Regions from separate parts of the Homo sapiens genome. Here regions 1 and 2 are each linked to region 3. Evidence: promoter capture Hi-C in 16 types of primary human blood cells and fetal thymus (Javierre and others, 2016). All regions are on one chromosome and are shown on one strand. The core of a region is centred on a gene start or on the middle of the fragment in contact, and the rest is flanking DNA. Distances in the headings are between cores, read along the strand shown. Region 1 overlaps PLCH1 (phospholipase C eta 1). Region 2 overlaps PLCH1 (phospholipase C eta 1). Region 3 holds the start of PLCH1-AS2 (PLCH1 antisense RNA 2).

Evidence for each region. The method cuts DNA at HindIII sites, captures the fragments that hold promoters and counts their contacts. A CHiCAGO score of 5 or more calls a contact.
Region 1: a contact is called between a fragment that was not itself captured here and the fragment with the promoter of PLCH1-AS2 in region 3, in 1 of 17 cell types (megakaryocytes). The highest score is 5.3, in megakaryocytes.
Region 2: a contact is called between a fragment that was not itself captured here and the fragment with the promoter of PLCH1-AS2 in region 3, in 2 of 17 cell types (megakaryocytes and fetal thymus). The highest score is 6.4, in megakaryocytes.

What each region holds. Positions count from the first base shown.
Region 1 is chr3:155,714,116-155,717,464 of GRCh38, reverse strand. The region is part of intron 1 of PLCH1 (phospholipase C eta 1); the gene reads left to right. Among named protein-coding and RNA genes, the nearest start is that of PLCH1, 29 kb to the left of the region's middle. The HindIII fragment of the contact is 1,418 bases long and covers 951-2,368 here.
Region 2 is chr3:155,696,618-155,699,794 of GRCh38, reverse strand. The region is part of intron 2 of PLCH1 (phospholipase C eta 1); the gene reads left to right. Among named protein-coding and RNA genes, the nearest start is that of PLCH1, 47 kb to the left of the region's middle. The HindIII fragment of the contact is 2,832 bases long and covers 33-2,864 here.
Region 3 is chr3:155,484,345-155,487,476 of GRCh38, reverse strand. It overlaps PLCH1-AS2 (PLCH1 antisense RNA 2), which reads right to left and starts at 1,674. Exons shown (of 2, transcript NR_146955.1): 1 at 1,428-1,674; 2 at 356-516. It overlaps PLCH1 (phospholipase C eta 1), which reads left to right. Exons shown (of 23, transcript NM_014996.4): 22 at 1,767-2,121. The HindIII fragment of the contact is 1,557 bases long and covers 1,544-3,100 here.

The DNA of each region.
Region 1 (3,349 bases), core at 410-2,909, 230 kb before region 3:
AGTCTGGATGCCCAGGCAGAAGCCTGCTGCAGGGACAGAGCCCTCACAGAGAACCTCTACTAGGGCAGTATGGAAGGGAAATGTGGGGATGGAGCTTCCACACACTGTCCCCACCAGGGCACTGCCTAGTGGAACTGTGGGAAGGGGGCCAACTGTCTTCCAGACCCCAGAATGGTAAAGCCACAGGCAGCTTGTATACTGCTCCAGGAAAAGCCACAGGCTCCCAGCAACCTGTAACAGCAGCTGCAGAGGCTGAACACTGCAAAGCCATAGAGGCAGTGCTGCCCAAGGTCTTGGGAGCCCACTTCTTGCACCAATGTTCCCTGAATGTGGGTCATGGAGTCAAAGGAAATTACTTTGGAGCTTTAAGATTTGATGACTGCCCTGCTGGGTTTTGAGCTTGCATGGGGCCTGTGGCCCCTTTCTTTTGGTCAATTTCTGCCTTTTGGAACAAGAATGTTTTCTTAATGCTGGTACCACCCCTGTAACTTGGAAGTAGAGAACTTGCTTTGGTTTTACAGGCTCATAGGTGGAAGGAACTCATTTCCAGATGAGACCTTGGACTTCGGACTTTTGACTAGGTTCATGCTGGAATGAGTTAAGACTTTGGGAGACTGTTGGGAAGACATTATTGTATTTTGCAATATAAGGAGGACATGAGATTTGGGGGGCCAAGGGCTGAATGATATAGTTTGAATACATGTCCCGGCCAAATCTCATGTTCACTTGTAATTTGCAGTGTTGGAGTTGGGGCCTGGTGGGAGGTGTTTGGGTCATGGGGAAGGATGACATGGTGCTGTCATGCCTTGGTGCTGTCCTCACGATAGTAAGTGAGTTCTTGTGAGATCTGGTTGTTGCAAAGTGTGGCACCCCCCATCGTATTCTCTTGCTCCTGCTCCTGCCATGTCAGATGCCTGCTCCCACTTTATCTTCCACCATTAGTAAAAGCTTCCTGGGGCCTACCCAGAAGCAGATCTGGTGCCATACTTCCTGTACAGCCTGCAGAACCATGAGCTAATCAAACCTCTTTTCTTATAAATTAGCCAGTCTCAGGTATTTATGCCAATGCAAGAATGGCCTAACACACAAGATTTGAATGAAGTAACTAATAAGTTTGAGCTGATAGACATGAAGATCACACCTCCTAACTTCAGAATACACATTCTTTTCAAACACACTAGAACATTTATGGAAAGTGACCTCAAACTATGTCATCAAGCAAGTTGTAATTATCAAAGGATTAGTGTCATACAGACTAAATCTCTGACCACAGTGGAATTAAACTAGAAACTATAACCAAAAGATTACTATGAATAGTTGTAGAAATGTGTTTCAAAATAATCTTGGGTTTAAAAAGAAGCTGTAATAGTATTCAGAAAATATTTTTAACTGAATGATAACAAAAATACTATGAGTCAAAACTTGGGGGTTGGGGAAGTAGCTAACACATGCTTAACCTTAATTACTTATATTTAAAAAGATGAAAACCTGAAAACAGTTAAACGTTGAAATTAGAAGGTTAGAAAAAGATGCAAAATAGGCCCAAAGAAAACAAATGGAAGGCTAAGTGCAGTGGCTCAGGCCTATAATCCTGGCAGTTTGGGAAGCTGAGGTGGGAGGATTGCTTAGGCCAGGAGTTCTAGACTAGCTTGGGCAACACAGTGAGACCCTGTTTCCACAAAAAATTAGCTGGGCATGGTGGTGTACACCTGTAGTTCTAGTTACTTGGAAGGCTGAGGCATGAGGATCCCTTAATCCTAGGAGGTTGAGGCTGCAGTGAGCCATGATCATGCCACTGCACTCCAGCCTGGACAACAGAGTGTTACTCTGTCTCTTAAAAAAAAAAAAAAAAAAAAAAGAGGCCAGATGTGGTGGCTCATTCCTATAAACATAGCACTTTGGGAGGCTGAGGCAGGCAGATCACTTGAGCTCAGGAGTTCCAGACCAGGCTGGGCAACCTGACGAAATCCTGTCTCTACAAAAAATACAAAAATTAGTTGGGTGTGTTGGCGCATGCCTGTGGTCCCAGCTACTCGGGAGGCTGAGGTGGGACAATCATTGCTTGACCCTGGGAGGCAGAGGTTGCCGTGAGCTGTGATTGTGACACTGCCCACCAGCTTGGATGACAGAGTGAGACTCTGTCTCAAAAAAAAAGAAAGCAGATGGAAGGAAATGATAGTAATAATTCCATGTTATTCAATGGAGATTACTGTAAAAGCTAGCAATATTGACAAATACCTGGTGAGATTGATTTAAAAATAAGAGAGGCACAAATAAGCCATATCAGGATTCAGAGAATAGATGTTGTAGATATTAAAATTATATGAATAATATTATGAACAACTTCATGCTAAAACATTTGAAAGCTTAGAGAAAATGAATAAATATCTAGACAAATATAACTTACCAAAACTGACTTAGAAAAAATAGAAAGCCTGAATAATGCTGTAATTTATAAATAAAATAAACCAGTAGTCAAATATTTCTTCTTAAAGGAAAGTTCAGGCTCAACTGGTTTTACTAGCAACCTAATTCTTCCAGGAAATAGAAACTCATTTTGTAAAGCTATGATAACTTCGATATAAAAGCCTTTTGAGAGCAATATGAGAAATGGAAGTTATAGGCCAGCCTTGCTTGGGAACATACATGTAAAAATCATAAAACATGAGCAATTCAAGTCCAGTAATGCATAAAAAACAGAAGAGGACTCCTTCAAGCTCTGGATACATATTATATACTCTAAACCAGCCCTTTCAAATGCAGCATCCCGGGTGTCTTTGGAGGGTCGATTGCGCCTCATTGCTTAACTAGCTCAGAGCATTTTCAGCTCCTGATTGCATTAGAGAAAAGAAAACACACCAGGAACTTGGGATTTAGTGGTGTCTCCTGTGAGCCTTAAAAAATGAACAAAGTACCCTTTTATTTCTTTCCCTTTGTGTACATAGCTGGGAGGGGGCTAGGCTGTGGAATTAGGCTGTTTGCAGAGGCCTTTAACAACCAGTTTGGTGGTGCTTAGAAACCTGCGGGAAGTAGGGGAGGGGCTGATGGTGGGGAAGGCCATCTGCTGGGTGGCGGGTGACATGGGAGCCCTCTGGACCTGACCCAGGCTTCTGAACTGCTTTAGAAGCTGTCAGTTTGGGGCTGGGCCAGAGAAGAGGATCCCTGGCCCCTCCCACCCCATCCCTGCCCTGTGTAATTCTCTTACTTTGTCTTAAAATTAATGGAGAAATGAGAAAGGAGCAACTTTGTTTGAAATCTTAGTTTTTAACTGGATTTAGTTTCAATTCTCAAGTTTTAGGGATACCTGGGTGCAAAATTCCCAAACATACGTTATGTCAGAGGCCGAAGT
Region 2 (3,177 bases), core at 199-2,698, 210 kb before region 3:
AGAGACCAATATCTAGGACTGACACACAAGCTTTCAGGACAAATGTGATTATATTCAAAAATGAAGAGTGAAAAGCTCTCCCTCACTGGAGTTCCATCTGCACTGGAAGAAAAGAGAAGAATTCCAGATCCTGACTGGAAAATATGCAAGGAGAATGAAATTATGCAAAAGTGAATTAGGGTTCCAATTGATTTCAGCCAGTTTATTAGACTTTGGCAGCCTGCCTGCTTTAGGTTTGTGGGGCATCACTAGATTTTATGTTAGAGTAGCATTTCTTTACTGAATCAAAGCCTAGCTTTTCCAGCCATAACTTTATAAGTCTCCTTTTCTAGGTCCAGAAAATACCTGTGCACATAGAATTCCTATTATTGCAATGACAATCAAGATTTCATGAACATCATTAAGATTAAAAGTATCAGGCTGGGCGCAGTGGTTCACGCCTGTAATCCCAGCACTTTGGGAGGCCGAGGCAGGTGGATCACCTGAGGTCAGGAGTTTGAGACCAGCCTGGCCAACATGGCGAAACCCTGTCTCTATTAAAAATACAAAAAATTAGCTGGGTGTGGGAGTGGATGCCTGTAATCCCAGCTACTTGGGAGGCTGAGGCAAGAGAGTCGTTTGAACCTGGGAGGTGGAGGTTGCAGTGAGCCGAGATGGCGCCACTGCACTCCAGCCTGGGCAACAAGAGCAAAACTGTCTCAAAAAAAAAAAAGATAAAAGATTAAAAATATTATCATTAAATTATTAGAGAGGACCAGGGAAAAATTTCAAAGACAAATTGAGAGGAAGAGTTAAAAAAAAAAAAAAAGAAGATAGGCCTTAAGGGAGAAAATATATTTCATTCATTTAAGTTTTATAAATTATAATAGAACTAATTCTGGAAGCAGCGTTGCCAGGTAGATTTCTTTTATTGGCCCCACCCAAAAGGCTCTCTACCTCCCATTGATGGCCACCAAAGCAGAAAGCATCAGGGCAGGTATCCTTTCAGGCCTATGATGTTCAGGTGTATCTTGCAGGTGGTGAAGATTTAGACAGAGGGAAGCATGGCCTGACCCAGGTGTGACACTTTGTAGGGGTTCCCACTGGCTGAGTTACTCTGGGTGAGTTGTTCTCTTTGGGACTAAGTTTTCCATATCAGCAAAATGCTGGCATTTATGGAAAATGACCTCTAAGTTTCTAAGCACTAAAATTTTAAGAAATGCGAGATTGTCTACCTCCCCTACTCACCCTACTTTTAAACACAGGCTAATTGGAGAATTTGCTGTGAGTTAACTGACCACATTGATTTATCTCCTTTTCTTCTTCCCCTGTCTGAGGGAAATCATAGCCATCCATTCAGGCCTTACAAAAGAGGATATTTATGTCTAGTTTAGAACACAAAGGAAAAAACCTTTAATGTGAGCTGGTATGAAATATACTTGTTCTATGACCTTTTGGGAACATATACTCTTCTTTGATGTCTTGGAGATACAAAAAATTCTCAATGAAAGCCTCTCAGTGAATGCTATTTATTTATATTTTAAAATCTAAAGTTCTTTCATTTTTTTGGTCTTTATGATGAGCATTCCATTTGTAACTGGTTTATTGAGCATTCTCAACTTAGTGTAGCATATATGCTTCAGTGAATGCTTCAGAAAATACTTTGTCCCATTGTAGCATCTTGGATAGGTTCTATTACTTTCTGGCTAATTTTGGCTATTAAGTGTCCAGTCCATTTTAAAATTTTAATCTCAAATTCATTAAGCCCTCTTACCCGCTGGCCTGGCTGTTGGTGGTTGAGGGTGGGAGTTCCTTTGTCTCTGCTATACTCCTTCCCCTTGAAGGAGAATTCAAGGCCCTGTTCCACAGATTTTGGTACAAAGAAGAGAGAGCAAAGGCTTTTTGTCTCACATGTCCCTGTTGTATGTCAGCAGCGGTGAGGTGATCCAGACTCCCTCTGCTTCCATCTTCTGTAGATTCTCAGTTTTATCCTGGCTCCCTCTGTTACCAAGGACCCTCCTGAGAGGACCTGCCATCTTGCTTCAGCCTCATGCCTTCTCTGCTGTCAGTTTCCTCTGGCTAGAGCACAGCTTCCTGTGCCCCTGAGGACACTGGGGCAACTGTCTGGCTCCTGCCCTTTCTCTTCTCTCCGTATTTCTTCATGTGGAGCTCTACAGACTGAAAGGACTTGAAAGATGGAATGGGGTGTGAAGTTGCCCCTTGCTCTTCTCAGACCTGCTGATGACAGTCTCTTCTCACACTGTAGGGGCTGCTCCCCTATGTTACCAACTTAAGCAATCTCTTCAGTCATTCTTTTGTAGCTCTTCCCCTGCTTCTTTCTGGGGGTGAGGGGTGTTTCCTCCAGTTTCACTCCTCAGAGTGCCATCTCTGCCACCCTGGGCATTGACGATATTATACGCCTAACAGCGGCTCAGGTAATGTGATTTTGATGGATGGAATCCCGGCCCCCCAACCACTGACAGCTCTCCTTGGACTCCTAGAGTCACTCTAGGCAGGTCCTTGTTCACTAACATTTTAGATTAGGGCGACTTAATTTCCCTAAAGCTACTGGTGTTCTTTATTCTGTTTGCTTTTTGCAGCATTATGTAGCTGGATTGATCAGACCCAAGCAATGATCTGTATGTATAAAAATCCATGTTGAGGTGTATCAGCCTCTATTCCTCATCGGGAATCTAATTCAATGAAGGGATTTTTCTGAGTAACTGAACCCACTGTGATCTCTCTGTCATGCTTTCTATGCAAGGTCATTTATCTTCTGCAACGATGGAGGGGATGAAAAGGTGCTCTTTAAATGGCAAATTGGAGATCTGGATGTATGGGAAGCCCAGGTGGATGAGAAGTGACAGTGTTCATTCTTTGAAGCTTTAGCTTTCAATTTTCTGAAACAAGCCTATTGCTGCCAAGTGAAAGCCTTGGATGGCTTTTTCCATGAGATTCTCCAACTCTTTCTCATAAACCTGTGGCCATTGAGAGTCCAGCCAGGCAGAAAGGCCCTTGATTGTTTTATTCCTTTATGCTTGGGAATACCAATTTTCTAATTGGCAATTGGAATTGGTAATTTTCTAATTAATTAGAAAGAAGAAATAATGTGTATAATAAACCGTCATTTTTTCCTTCAGATTTGCAGACCTTTCATGTTTTAAGTGGTTACTTCTGAGAATTATTTCCCCTTAGACC
Region 3 (3,132 bases), core at 425-2,924:
GTCTTGGTTATAGAACTCATTTGAGGTTTACAAATCAATAGGTTGTCCTCTGGTCATGTCAAGTAATTGGGGACTTGGTTACCAGTATGAATTTTCAGGACCACACGGGATTTGGAGGGACTGTTAAAGCATTGAATGGGGCCTAGAAATGTCCCGTGCTCTTTGCCAGAAAATCTGTATAGCTGGAAGCTTCCTCATCTGTGAATGTGGGATAAAAATAATACCTATCTCATAAATAAATATATATCTTATCCTTAGAAAGCTGCCTGGTACGCAGTAAATGCTCAGAAATGTTGGCTAATATTAATGTTATTATGACTACAACCTAACTAATAAGGAATGGACCATTTCAGCATGAATTAGGGAGTGTAAAGTTTATTTTCATATCTGTCAGCAAGGGCGTGGAGGTGGGGGTAAGGATCCTAATTTCTAAGACTCGTGAAGTTTTATACCATAACTTCCTGTGTTTAGTCCTGGATTTCTGTTTGTGCTGCTTGTTGGGGTCTTGCCTCTCATCTAAGTAGACACAAATGTAAATAATTCAAAAATGATTCTTGAATTCTAGGAATCCCAGGTTAACTACAGATTATCTCTAGCATTTATCACATTGAGGGAAACAATTACATTCTGAATTTGTTTAAAACTTGAGCCAGGGCCAGGCGCGGTGGCTCACGCCTGTAATCCCAGCACTTTGGGAGGCCGAGGCGGGTGGATCATGAGGTCAGGAGATCGAGACCATCCTGGCTAACAAGGTGAAACCCCGTCTCTACTAAAAATACAAAAAATTAGCCGGGCGCGGTGGCCGGCGCCTGTAGTCCCAGCTACTCGGGAGGCTGAGGCAGGAGAATGGCGTGAACCCGGGAAGCGGAGCTTGCAGTGAGCCGAGATTGCGCCACTGCAGTCCGCAGTCCGGCCTGGGCGACAGAGCGAGACTCCGTCTCAAAAAAAAAAAAAAAAAAAAAACAAACTTGAGCCAGAAATAAATTAAAATCTGAAAGTGTTCTATATCACCTCCATCTTCTCTGCTAAATAAATGTCCATTTATGAGTCATACTCTTTATTCCTTTCAAGATGTGTTCGGGTTGGGATCCACACATCACAGTGTAGTGGATATTGGTTGAACAATGAATGAGCATAAGACTAAAAATCCCCAAAACTAAGAGAAAGGGTTTATAGACATGTATGCATTTTTTCTTTTGTGTTTACTTGTGACACCCTCTTCAATGAGCCCCAATTGTGTTTTGTTGTGTTTTGTTTTTTTCCTTTACAGTGGAGCCCTTTAATACTCAACCCCAGTTATACTATATTGCACTTTCTAGGAGCTACAAAGGTAGTTTCTCAGCATGGTGCTTTGTTCTGGCTGGCATATTTCTTTTTAAGTGGTTATGGCAGCATGCTTTTTCATATCACTCCATCTTCCTGCTTACCACTTTGAAACATGCATCTGTTGCTTTAAGGCGCCTGAAGTTCATAGCAGTCTATGAGCTGTGGAGACTTTTCCTACCACTTTGTCATCTCTGGGTAGGAAACTTCTGGGAAAGCTTGATGTAAGAATGGAAGGCTGAAGTCCTTGCAAAGTAAGGTTGATAAGATGTGCATGAAGTTGTGCAAACATGCTGTGAGCTGCTGCTTTCTTGGTTTGAATATATTTCAATGGCTGTACGATTTTGGTTTATATTCATTTTTCATGGAGCTGTCATTTTCAAGGCAAGTTGTTGATGTGATGGCATTTGCTTAACTTGTGGTTGGTTCTTTTGTGTCTTCAGAACAGACAACTCCAGGGTCTGAAGGGACTGTTCAATAAGAATCCTAGGCACAGTTCTTCAGAAAACAATTCCCATTATGTACGGAAGCGATCCATTGGAGATAGAATTCTGCGACGCACAGCTAGCGCCCCAGCCAAAGGCAGGAAAAAGAGCAAAATGGGCTTCCAAGAAATGGTGGAGATAAAGGATTCTGTGTCCGAGGCCACAAGAGATCAAGATGGCGTGCTGAGGAGGACCACACGCAGTTTGCAAGCACGCCCTGTCTCTATGCCTGTTGACAGAAACCTTCTGGGAGCTTTGTCGCTGCCTGTATCTGAAACAGCAAAAGACATTGAAGGAAAAGAAAACTCTCTAGGTAAGATGCTTTAAGTTTCTCTGAGAATAAACCCTTCTAGGCTGCATGTCAGTCCCTGTTTACCATTATGAAGTGGCTGACATTCTGTAGTCAAAGTAAAATATACTGAAAAATAAATACTTTGTAATGTGATCTTCCAGACCAGAAGATTTTAAACTTTGGGGGCCAGGTAGATCCATTTCCTCCTCACCAAGAGCTTCATAATATCAACATCTGAAATTGACAGTGAGGGATAGGGGAGCCATTAGGTGTGATGGCACAGAGAGGAAGATGAAACCTGCAAAATAGGATTTGAAATATTGATTTTCCAAATGAGTGCCATATTTACTGATTTGTTTTGAGGGTGAATATAGTTGTATTACTTTTCTTACCATATAACACATTTCCATGATTGGAAATGTTTATGGAGAAAGAAAGCCAGATGTTAAAAACGAGCCACCTTTTTCAAAAACAGGCAAATCTTTTTTCTCAAGATGTGGCTCAGGCAGTGTTTTCCTGTGGCCTCACTTCCCTGATCCTTGGATGCTGACAGAGATAGAGGTGTGCCTGCAGCTTCAGCACGGTTGTGGGCTCCACAAGCATAGGGACCAGGTGCTGCCTGTCTTTTTCCTTAATTTGAGTGTATCATTGACTCATATCAGGAGCTCAATAAAGAGTGAAGACCGCCTTGCAGTGTGCCAGAGAATTTTTGACTGATGTTGGTGACTCCCAACCCATCCTATCTGGGGGTAAATTTAAGCGCCAAAACTGTGTGCATTTGATATCTCTGCAACAAATATGTTTTAATTAAATCAGAATCATCTCAGACAAGTAAAATGTGGTACTGATTTCCTTTAGCAAAATTATTCTTTTAACTTTTATCAAATGGTCTAATTTCAGTGCTCTCTTTTCCCACAAACACCATTTTACTTGTATTGATTTTTGTTACAAGATATTCTTCAGTGGTTTATTTGAAGGAGAAAAAGAACATTTAAAAGCTTGAAATTTTGCTAAGAGCAGTGTCAGAGAAGA